Linked DNA regions of Homo sapiens: all the other regions are linked to region 2. Evidence: promoter capture Hi-C in 16 types of primary human blood cells and fetal thymus (Javierre and others, 2016). All regions are on one chromosome and are shown on one strand. Each heading gives the region's core, a stretch centred on a gene start or on the middle of the fragment in contact. The rest is flanking DNA. Distances are from core to core; before and after follow the strand shown.

Region 1 (2,793 bases), core at 187-2,686, 2.3 Mb before region 2:
TTTAAAATATATACAAAATATTTTTAGACACGTAAAATGTTTAAGATTTAAATAAACTGCTAAGGCAGGTACAAATTGGAATTCTAGCTATAGCAATGGTCATAAAAGAAACTTTCATCTAATCTCAATTCTAATGGGTGTACTTGTTTCCTAAAAGGCCTTAGCAGATATAGACATACATAACAGTATTTTGCCTAAAATTAGGTATAACATGCTTCCTGTAAAAAAAAAAAAAAAAAAGTAACTTAAAATTTTTCAACTTTTCTAAATGTTGTCTACAAGAGAATCATATTTTCAGCTAGGTAATTCAAGAAGAATACTTCTAATTGGAGAGGGAAAGGTGGATTAACTTTTTTCCATATGGAATAATGAATTTTTAACCTCTACTTTCTGTGATGGTCATATGGTAATTCCACATATACTCAAAGACTATGCGTGATGGTGGGGAAGTGGGCACAAGGTTGAGTGTAATGGTCAGAAAGGAAAAGTCTACACTCCTAACCTAAGGTATCCTGGTGCAATGTAAAGAGAAAAAAATCCAGGACTGAAATCACACAGCCTGCGTTTAAGGGATTCTGATGTGATCATCAGCAAATAACGTCTCCGGTTTCCCATACCTTGATTTCTTCAACTAGAAAATGGGAATGATGATTCTTTTAAAAATTTCTGCCTCAAAGGGCTGAGGATTAAGTGAACTATTTACCTGGAAAGCGCTTTGTAAACTTCAAAACCCTACACATGTGTTAGTATGTGTAATAAACTCCATATGAGAGGCCACTGGAATCAGCAAAGTTAATTAATTCCATTGCTGTCATGCTTCTCCTAGAAGATATTGTAACTGTGGGTGTACAGGTACATACGACTTGGCAAAGGGCCAAAATAAGGTTTTCTTCCCAAATGTTCTTTCTACAGGAAACACGAAAATAATTAGCCCAGATTCCCGAGTGAACTCATCAACATCCGTGGAGGTGGAGGGTGTTAAAATCGAGTTAAGGCAAAATTTACAAAAAAAAAATTAAAAAACAGTCAATTGCGGGACACTGAACGAAGAAGGAAGCCAAACTCGGGGAAGGGCTAGGGAGAGAGGAGGCGTGGCCCCAGCCCCGCTCCACGCCGCGCGCCTCCTCGCTCCCCATCCAGCGCGGCGACCACCGGGGTGGCGGCGACAGCGGCGCTTCTCAAACCTTTAGTCTCCCAAGAGCCGTTACGCGCCGCCCCTCTCAATCCCCACAAGTCTGGGCCCCTAACCTCCTAGCCCGTCACAGACTTCTCCGCGCAGCTACGCTGCAAGAGGCTCTCTTAGCTAGAAAGCAACCACTGGGCGGGTACCTGAGCCGAGATGAATCCCTCATACACGGTTTTCGACCGGTTCTGGGGCAGAAGCAGGGGGCACTGGCGCAACAGGCTCGCTTCCGTCACCGCCATGGCTCGAAGTCCGGAGAAACACAGAAAAGCTCTAGACCTGCTGGGTCCTGCACATGCGCAGTCCGCTGGCGCTCGGACGCCGCGGAGCGGAAACCCCAGCCTTGGCGGGAAGATCCTGGAGGATTCCGCGGGCGGAAATGAAGGTGAAGCGCAGGCCAGGCCAAGTGGCGCTCTGCGGGAGGCGACATCAGGGCTCCCCAACCGGTAGTGGGAGGGAAGATTGCCCTCAAGTCCACAGGACTGACTGACCAAGATCATTCTAGCCTCAATTGTCCCAGGAGCCCTTTCGATGATTCTGTTTTACTTTATTGAAAGACTGTTACAACTTTGGTGTTGCATTTCCTCCAGAATAAAATGACTTTTACAGCCTGGACGTTGTAGCACTCTGTCTTCTTTGCTGTTGTCCTCTCTCCCTTAACATACAGAATAATGTATTATTTTGTGTATAATTATTGTAATATAATGTATAACACATTGATTATATCATATATATTACAGTTCTGTGGCTTACTAAGTTCAATCAGATATATTTGAGGCACACACATGTATACGTATATGTGTATTGATTAGACTCAAGTCAACACTGGACTCAGTTCTGTGTACGGCACTCACAAATATATAAAGCAAAACATGAGTAAAGATTGCTGATGGACTTGAACTTAATTTTCCTCTGACAGCGCTTGCAATATGTTTTTCTAACTCAGGAATGTTATCCATCCCATCTTATTAAGAGTTGATTAAATAAGAAACCTACTAAAATATTTACCATATGATTATTTGATTTTCCAATTTTCCAATTTTCCAATGCATCACGTTTGAGCCCTACTATTTGAAAAACATCATTGTAATGTGCCAAAGGTTGAGCAAAGATTATTTCGTCCCCTACCCATCTTTATTGACCTCAAGACAGAATTTGACATCCTGAAGATTCTTAAAGTTTGACAAGAATTTGTCACAGCATTCTGGATGCTTACAGAAAAGAATGCTGGAGCAGTGGTTAGATATAAATTACATTAAAGCAGTGGTTCTCAAAACGTGATCCTAGAACCTAGCAACAGCATCACCTGGGAACTATGTAGAAATACAAGTTTTCACCGCTGATGGGGTTCAGGATATGCTACCCCAAAATATGGCCCCTTGACATTTGAGAAAACAACAAAACCTAAGATCACTCTCTGACCTTCTCCCATCCTTCTTCCCTGAGGCGGGTCATTGGATCCTCAATCCAGAGGTGCTCTTCCTATACCCACAGGAAAGAAATATCCTTATCTCTAAAGAAACGGAGACATAGAAAAGAATCTGAACAAAAAGACCTTTGACAACTTACCCCAGTTTATTACCATTAGACCATGCTTTGTCCAACCGTAC
Region 2 (3,096 bases), core at 594-3,093:
TGGGGCGCGGCGAGGTCGGGCAAGGCCCGGGCGAGGCCAGGCCGCCGCCGCCGCCTGCTCCGGGGCTGCCGCGCCGCGCTCGGTCCTCTGTCTGTTTGTTGGCAGGAGGCTCCCGCACACGCGGTGCTTGTAAACATTCAGACACGAGATTTTTCCCAATCAAAATCCACTTCCACTTTTTTTGAAAATCTTCCAAAAAATAGTAAGAGGAGGGAGTTCCTCTCTCCCTCTCCGTGCCGTCGGCGCCCTAAGTTTGCAACTGAAGGGGTTTGGGGGAAGAGGGTGATTGTAAATTTTTTTCTAGATGAGAGATTGTGAGATTTTTGCAGGGGGGCTGGTGGGGGAGTCAAAGAGAAGGCCGTCACAGAAAAGGGTTGGCAGAGCGTTTGGCTTCGGTTTGGGGGCAAGAAATTGTACATTCTCTTGCCTTGTTTTATTTATTTTATTTTTATGTATTTATTTATTTATGTGCCAGTCTTCTCCTTGCTGCCTCTGAGGTTCGGTCGGGAGGGGAGGGCAGCGGCAACCCAGGAGGCAGCAGTCCGGGCTCCCTCCCTCCCTCTCCCGCGTGCCCCCGGCCGCCTCCTCCCCCGGCCCTAGCTCCTGCCCTTCGGCGGCGGCGGCGGCGGCGGCGCGGGAGGGCAAGCGCGAGGAGCCGGCACAAAAGGCAGCGGGACAAACACCCACCTCTGGCCGGAACAAAAGGCGGCAGTGCCGGCCGCGTCTCCCGTCCTTCCCGGTCCCACGGCTCTCCCCGTCGCCGCGGCCCCTCTCCCGACTCCGCGGACTCAGGAGCGCCGGGGGCCCCTTTCCACAGTGCCACTTTCTCACTATTGTGGGGATGACTACTTTCCTCCCGCTGCACACTTGACCGTGAGCGCGCTGGTGTCCAAAAGCCAGTCTCACCTCTTTTCTCCCCGGGAATCGTTTTTTAGACTTGTACTCACTCCCTCCCTACCCCCCCATTTTCTTACGGTGAGTGGGAAGCAACCTCCCTTTCCCCACCAGCTCCCACCCCCAGGTTTGCATGTGAGTTGTTCGCAACCTTAGCATTGTTCATTATTTTGCAAAACTGGCGGGGCGGGGGGGGAGTGGAATCATTGCATTCCTTTTCGAAAAGAGAAATAAAGCGGCGGAAAGGAGGAAAGAGGAGGAGTCAAATTTTTGTAAAATTAAATAAAATTAAAAGGTGCGTGCTGTCTCAAAAGTGCATACACGGCAATGGTTCCAGATGGGATGAGGGTTTTTTCCCCCTTTATCTCTTTTACCTCGACTCTCGGAGGTTTTTCTCGTGAAAAATTTAAAAATGCATGCACACACCCCTCTCTCCCCCTCGCTTTTGCTTCTAGTCCTGCGCGCTCTCGTGATTATTAATAATTATTATTACTATTATTGGGTTACTTACGCGAGAATTCCCGTTTGCTTAAGTGCTGGGGTTTGCCTTGCTTGCGGCGAGACATGGTGGGCTGCGGGGCGGGCGGCGGCGGCGGCGGCGGCGGCGGCGGGCGGACGACGGCTCGGTTCACATCGGGAGAGCCGGGTTAGAAAGAAGGAGACTCCAGAGAAAATATCTTCATCAGTGCCTTTTGACATCCAAAATAAATTAGAAATAATACAAAGATGGCGCAGGGAAGATGAATTGTGGGAGAGCCGTCATGGCTTTTTTTTAAGCAAAAAAAAAAAAAAAAAAAAAAAAAAAAAGAGGGAGAGAGAGAGAAGAGAGATAGAGGGAGAGAGAGAGAGAGAGATGAAAAAAATGGCAAAAGCCCCCCTGAGCTGCAAGTTCAAGTGCGGACGTGACGTCCCTGCGAACTTGAACGTCAGGAGTCTGGATGGACAGAGACACACAAAACATGGGCAGGGCGAGCAGGAGAGAAGGGGAGGAGGGAAGGGGAAGCTCACACCAATGGACACACATCAGGGGCTGGACATGAAAAAGAGACCAGGACAAGCCAATGGCCAGTGCGGGGAGGGGGAGGTGCGGGGCGGGGGGCTCCGCGGACGCCAGACGCGGCCCCCGGGGGAGGGGCGGGCCGAGGGGAGGGGGCGCTGGGGCCGCGGGCTCACCAGTGGCCGCAGCGAGCGCCGCGGCGGTGGCGTGGCCGGGAGAGAAGAAAGGGGTGGCAGGGGTGGGAGGAAAGGGTGGGGGGGAGCAAGACGTGCGCCCTGCTCCCCCCCACACACGCGGACTCTAAAATGAAAGATTATTCAAAAAAGAAAAAAATAGAGCGAGAGTGCACCGGGAGGCTGCAGCCCCGGGCTGGGGAAGCGCGGGCGGAGGGAAGCCAGGTAGAGTTGCTCCCGGACACCCTCCTCCGTACGCACACCCACTTCCCCTCCCCGCCGCCGCCGCGCTCGCTCCCCGCGTGTGGACGCCAGGGGCCGAAGTAAAAGCCCCGAGCCCGCGGCTGCGCTCGGGAAACTTTGCCCGAGGAGAGGACAGCAAAGAAAAATCACCCGAAGTTGAGAGCTGAGCCTCCAAGTTACAGCTCCGCAGCGGGCGAGGGGAGGTGGGAGGGAGCGCACGGCAACGCGGAATCCAGCCTAAGTTTGGAGGGCTGCGGGTCCGGAAGGGCAGCGCCCAAGTCTCCAGGAGCCCGCGCGGCCTGGAAAGAGGGGACCGGGGAGAGGCAGGCGGCGCAGGCCGGGGCCCGAGGGCGCCCCCAAGGCCGAGCCAGGGACCGGGAATCTGAGCGCCCCGCCAAGCGACTGGGTCTGAATGCAACTGAAAGCGCCGAGTCCCCGGCTCCTAAGGGTCGCAGAAAGAGAGCCCGAGGAATAAAGAACGAGGAGCCAGAGTCTGGCCCCCGGAGGGGAGCGCCGGGGGCCTGGGCAAGAGAGGCACCGAGGCGTCCACCTCTCTGAGAGGCCGAGGACAAAGCGCGGGCAGTCCCGGGAGTCCCAGTCCCTGGGAATGTGCTCACGGCGCCGCGGGAGGTCCCCGAGCCGGGTCCCTGGGAGGGACACACCCCCTCCCACTCCAGAGCAACTGCAAAAGCACAGAGGGATGGGAAGAAAATGTTTCTTACGGGCAGAGCACAACTGTTCCTGTGCTGTTACCCAGGGAAAGAGAAAATGGGAATGGAGAGAGAGCGA
Region 3 (2,995 bases), core at 81-2,580, 2.8 Mb before region 2:
GGTTTCACCATGTTGGCCACGCTGGTCAATTTTCAAAAACTACAAACACATACAATAGATGTACCACTCAGATTTCTCAATGGAGACTTCTTGAAATTTTGAATTACAAGAAATCTCTCCCATTATTGAGAATGATTACTCATGATTTTTTAAATCCATGAAGTGAACAGATGCTGTTTGCACATTTTTATAGAATTATTAGAATAGAGATAAATAAATTGATTGGTCAAGGGATTGCATCCTTTATATTGGAATAAAGACTATAATTAAAGGGAAGTCTATGTTAAGGGTCATGACAATCAAAATAGTATCTCAATACATTTTGGAAACAAAACAAACAGGACTGTCAGTATGATGCTAGTACACTCTTATATGAATATCATGATTCTTTCTGAAGCACATTGGTAGAAGTGCCAAGATTTCAATACTTAATGTATTCTAAAACAGTACAGATTAAAATATATTAATATTTTAAAGATTACATATAATATGTGTGTGTGCATGTGCGTGTGTGTGTGCATGTTCCTCTGGAAGTAGGGAGTAAAGGCTATGCCTTGTTTTCCCAAATAGCTTACTTTGTGCCTGTGTTTTCAGGTCTTACTCTTTCAATTCACAGATGAATAAGCACTAGAGTTTAAGAGTGGAAGGGTGCAACACACCAATACCAATCTGGGCCACACTTACCATTATATCTATATCCATGTAAAATGTTTTAAAGTCCATCTTATTTGAAAAAAATTAAAGGATCTATTTTGAGACTGTTTACCAAGTTGATATCCTGGCACATAACAGGTGTTCAACAAAAGCTTATGGAGCAAGGAAATGAACATGCCAACCCCAAAGAGTCACCTCTTCATTGAAATGCTCACCTATTTAGGTTGCATTCTTCCTTTCCTGGACCCTCCCTTTAACAGCTAACTCATCTTTCTTATCAGTTAGTGAATTCCACTCTAGACTTTACTACACGTTTCTTAATAAATAGTCCTCGAAGTAAAAAACAAAAAACAACTAGCTGACAAAGTAACCCAAATGGTGGTATCAAAGGATCTGTGGAGTTCATCTGGAATAAGAATATAGAGCCAGGTGACCCTTAGCCACCCCAGATGTCATCTCTTGTGCTCTACCGTGCTGAAAGCTGCACCTAGCAGGGAGAGTCAAGAGGAAAGTGATGCCATCGCTGTAGCAGGCAATGTAGCAGGTTTAGGTATCTCTTACCAATTCCTTTCTTTCTAAGTAAAATAATTTTTAAGTTTCAAACTTTATTTTAATGAAAATATTTTGGAAACTGGATAACAAGTACCAGAATAATAGATTATATAATTTTTAGTTTTATAGTATGGTAATAGCAAAATGTTTTAGCAGTATACTTTGACGAAATAAACACCCTAGTAAAAGGGTCAGATTGCTAAATGGTACAAGGAGGTCTAGTGGAAGCCCAAATGCCCTTGGCTTGATTTTCAGCTCCAGCAGTTACATGCTGCAAACTGTGTCTCTGTTTCCTTACCTCTAAAGCAGACATACAAGTCAACCTCAAAAGTCTGTACTGAGAATTCTAAAGGTAATATATATAGCTTAATCTAGGTATCCTGCAAATGTTAGACTCCTTTTCCTTGACCCTCTCTCATGCAGCACACACACACACACACACACACACACACACACACACACAGTGCACTTCATTTTCTTCTTAAACAAGATACAAATAATGAAACTAATTTCCCTTGACTTTTCCAGCGAAGTTATGGTAATATATTATTTATAATACATAACCACAAAATAGTATATGCTTTGTCCACATGTTGAAACTTTACTTCTATAGAACACATAAAATGTAAGTTTTCATCATTTAGGGAGAAAAGCTTTCTAAACCACATTTTTTCTTTCCCTAATTTTTAATGATATTATAAATCTGATAAAATGTATGCGTACTTATTGCAGAAATTTGAAAAATATACAAAAAAGCACAAAGAAAACAAATGAAAGTAATTAATTCCCTAACTCAGAAACCATTATTACTAATCTTGATTTCCTTTCTATGCATTTGAATTGGATTATCCACTACATCCTGTTTTGTAACCTTTTTACACTTATTAATGTTCTATGAATATTTTGAATGCTTAAGTATTTTTAAACATTCTATATAATATAAATATCATTTTAATGGCTGCATATTATTTTATCTTGTGGTTATACCACAAATTGTTTAATCAAAGCCATATTGTTGGACATTTGAGGTTGTTGCTGTGGCCATTGTTTTTAAGCAATACTGTTAGAATAAACTGCTATGTACCCATCCATGACCCAGCTTCAACAATTATCACCTCATGGTCAGTCTTGTTTTATCTGTACCCTTACGAATTCCCCATACCAACCTCAGATTATTTTGAAACAAATCCACTCATTATTTCATCTGCACATATTTCACTGTGTGCCTTTAAATTAGACAGTGTTAAAAATCCTTCATCTTTACCCCTTCTTTCTCCTTCTTCCCTTTCCTTCCTCAGACTGTTAATATCAACATCCAAATAAGATCCATACACTGCAAATAGTTAAGAGGTTCCTTTCTGTGTTTTTCCCCTTGCAATTTATTTGTCAGCAAAAACACGAAGAAAAACAAACAAAAATAGGCCAATGAACCTATAGTATTTCCCATGTTTTGGATCAGTGTCATTTACCATGCTCCTCTATCAACTGTACTTCCTAGAAATAGAGTCTTAGATAAGGAATTTTGTCCAAATTTTGGTTCTACGTTTTGGCAAGAATATTTCATAGATGGTATGGTATACTACCCTCAGGTGGTACATAATACAGGATTGTTTACTTTTTTCTGATGTTAGCAGCCATTGATGATCCATGCCTGGATCCATTAATTTATCAGCATTGTACAATGGTGATATAACAGTTTTGCTAATATAAATAACACTACATAACTAAAATATTATAGCTGAATATCTGGGCACATCTATATATATGTTTATTTTTTAAAAATCCTTAA
Region 4 (3,055 bases), core at 503-3,002, 2.8 Mb before region 2:
TTTACGTAGAAAACTGCCACAACCTGCTGGTGGCAAAAAAGACCTGGTGGGAGGATATTTCAGATAGGCTATTTAAACTAAAATAAAAATGGCAGTTGTTACAAATTTCAAATTAATGTCCACTTTCTAAACCAAAGATGCTCAACTGTCTCTCCATATTCACATGTATGAGTCCCCTGAACTCCAGATGGAAACGGATGTTATAATTATCACGGGATTGTTGTAGCTTTAAATGGGAATGGAAAATAATCATGCTGAAGTGTCAGATCCAAAGGATGGCTGCTTTTAAAAAGCCCATTAAACAATATTATTCAATGTTAATGGTAGCATTATCAGAAGGTCTTTGATAATGTAGCTGCCAATTGTGCTCTCTTGATTTGTAACTTTCTTTGAGGGCTTGGGGAACATGAGCTGTTTAAAGCACCTTTTTAAAAAGCTCCTAATTCCTTTCTGACTTTGACTATTCTCTTTTTCACCGAGGAACTGAATGGAACCTGTAACTCTGATTAAAATGAACTTAGACTATACAGAAGGCCTGCCTTACAATTATATATGTGCCAAGATTAAAACTCAGATATCTTGTAGTCAACAGTACCAGGCTAAGTGGTAGGTAATAGAACTTCCATTCAAAACTTTAGAAAAAAACAGAATGAGTATAGCCTTTACGGAGGGGTAGATAAAATACTTCAGAGGAGCAGATTTCTAACAGATAATTCTTTGCAGAAAAGTCACAACCATTCTAACACAACTAGCTATTTTAACAAACACTGGGGTGAGGAGTTTGCCACCTAAGTATTGCCCAAGACACATGACTGCATATTAGTGATGGTAGCAGATACATTTTTAATTAAATCTTCTTTTATTTAGAGCATTATGCAACACCTGGGTGACAGAGTGAGACTCCATGAAAAGAAAGAAAAGAAAAAGAAAGAAAGAGAGAAAGAGAGAGAGAGAGAAAGAGAGAAAGAGAGAGAGAAAGAGAAAGAAAAAAGAAAGAAAAAAAGAAAGAAGAAAGAAAGAGAAAGAAAGAAAGAAAGAAAGAAAGAAAGAAAGGAAGGAAGGAAGGAAGGAAGGAAGGAAGGAAGGAAGGAAGGAAGGAAGGAAGGAAGGAAGGAAGAAAGAAAAAGAAAGAGAGAAAGCAAGCAAGCAGGCAAGTTTTTCCAGGGTGTGGATATTTTCGGCCAATGAGTTGAACACTCTTAAATAATAGCTATGTAGGCAGTGATGGATGAAGTGAACAACTTTATTCTAAGAAGTCAACTCTTTCTTCATTTAATCTCAACCTCCATGTAGAATCACAAGATGTACCCTAAGAGCAGACTTTCCTGCCAGGCCTGTTAGGGTTGAGAAGTAACACTGCTCTGGTCCCACTGGGCATCCACTCTACACACCAGGAAATTTAATTTGTCCTAAAGTGAAATATTTCCCAGAAGAGAAAAACATTCACCTGGACATTTCTTTCCTTGCCATCCTCTTCTGCACTCATGATGTAATATTCATGGTTATAAGGGAATGGGGGGTGGGAAAATGACTTGTTTATAGAAAGTAAAAGAAAAGGTGTAATTAGAAGATGGTAAGCAACTCAAGTCTCAGTTACCTTGACCAGTTTGTGAGATCTGGGGGAAAAGAAGGTGCTTTGGAGATCTGCAGAAAGGTCAAAGGAAAATATGATGTGGGCAAGGGGTGAAGGGTATTTGAGACAAGCCAGGGAAGCAACATTTCAAATAGGCTTTTAAAATTCACTTGGGTTTGTACTATATGTCTCTTGAAAGAGTTAGAAGCCCAATATATAAAAAGCTGACTATTTATATATTTGATTCCTTAAAAGCAATGAGGAATACAAAGCAGATGGTCCAGCATTGTAGATTTCCCTTTTCATATTGCTTAAACACTAGAGATCAATAAGTCTAATATAAACAGATGATTTCCATAGCAGGGTTTATAATTAGCTGGCACTGAATGTGTCCAAACTCTAAAATAATTAGCAGAAGCATGTGGCACACCATTAAAACCTTGTGGCTTGTCTGCATTTACATTTATAATTATTAAAGTTAATTATGATGCTTGTGTTATGGTTCCAAGCTCCTTTACAACTTAGATTAAATATTTTTTTAATCCCATAACTTCATTTCTAACCTTCCTTGAGCCTCTGGAAAACAGTGAAATCATACAAAATAAGGAATGTATAGCTGCAGTTTTTTGCTCCAAAGGGTACTAGTCTGTCCTTATCATGAAAGATAGGCTCTTCTTAAAGAGCTGGCAGCTTTCTCAACTGATAACAATATTTCGATCTTGAATTTTAATTTGTTTGTAATGATGGGACAGGCAGAATAACACTGCTTACAAGTCTTTGGAGTGAAAGCTGTCATTTTTGAGAGCTAAATGAATGGCAAGTTAGTGTCAATATAGTCTCCTCAATTTATTATATAGTGAAAGAGAATTTAAAATAATATACATAATGGGCTTGGTTCAAGATCTAAAGATACTCTACATTATTTTAGAGTGCAGCTGATACTTCACAGGAAAGGAACAAACAGTTCACCTTTATTTTTAAAGTCCACATCCCCTGAAAAGGCTATTTAGCAAAGCCCTCCACTGTATTGGGAACCTTGGATACAACAAAACACGTAACACAGACTTTGCCTACTCAGCCAGAACAATGACAGTCTTAGTCTCACCAACAGTCATACTAACCACAAGAGCATATTTCTTTAAAATTTGCCTCAAGAAATATGATGACATATTTTTGGTGACCTTATACTCAGGTGTCATTTATTGTCATTGCAACAACTGGCCAGTGTTCTTAACATAAATCTCATTAAATCTGGAAATTTTTTCATCTTTGGTCAAGAACATTTTAAGAAATTTATATTCTATATCCTATCTAATACACCAGGCCATATTTAAAGACACAGTTCTTAACATATTTACAAGTCAGGAAATCAGAAAAGGAACATTAAATACCTTATTTGTCAGATCTGCTCATGTATATCTCTGTTACTATATTCAAGTTATCTGTAATCAATAAGTGTAACAAATGTGCTTTCTTTATAAA

The links. The method cuts DNA at HindIII sites, captures the fragments that hold promoters and counts their contacts. A CHiCAGO score of 5 or more calls a contact.
Region 1: a contact is called between the fragment with the promoter of FANCL here and the fragment with the promoter of BCL11A in region 2, in 6 of 17 cell types (total CD8 T cells, erythroblasts, naive CD8 T cells and 3 more). The highest score is 9.3, in total CD8 T cells.
Region 3: a fragment that was not itself captured here is called in contact with the fragment with the promoter of BCL11A in region 2 in 1 of 17 cell types (naive CD8 T cells); the score reaches 5.0 in naive CD8 T cells.
Region 4: a fragment that was not itself captured here is called in contact with the fragment with the promoter of BCL11A in region 2 in 8 of 17 cell types (naive CD8 T cells, activated CD4 T cells, non-activated CD4 T cells and 5 more); the score reaches 19.6 in naive CD8 T cells.

What each region holds. Positions count from the first base shown.
Region 1 is chr2:58,239,889-58,242,681 of GRCh38, forward strand. FANCL (FA complementation group L) reads right to left here and starts at 1,437. Exons shown (of 14, transcript NM_018062.4): 1 at 1,330-1,437. The coding sequence starts at 1,425. RefSeq lists a silencer at 1,035-1,084 and an enhancer at 1,625-1,784. The HindIII fragment of the contact is 7,787 bases long and covers 1-2,793 here.
Region 2 is chr2:60,551,811-60,554,906 of GRCh38, forward strand. BCL11A (BCL11 transcription factor A) reads right to left here and starts at 1,844. Exons shown (of 4, transcript NM_022893.4): 1 at 1,406-1,844. The coding sequence starts at 1,460. RefSeq lists silencers at 1-34, 555-914, 2,324-2,413. The HindIII fragment of the contact is 6,342 bases long and covers 1-3,096 here.
Region 3 is chr2:57,768,403-57,771,397 of GRCh38, forward strand. No RefSeq gene overlaps it. Among named protein-coding and RNA genes, the nearest start is that of VRK2, 280 kb to the right of the region's middle. The HindIII fragment of the contact is 1,053 bases long and covers 805-1,857 here.
Region 4 is chr2:57,743,564-57,746,618 of GRCh38, forward strand. No RefSeq gene overlaps it. Among named protein-coding and RNA genes, the nearest start is that of VRK2, 300 kb to the right of the region's middle. The HindIII fragment of the contact is 9,428 bases long and covers 1-3,055 here.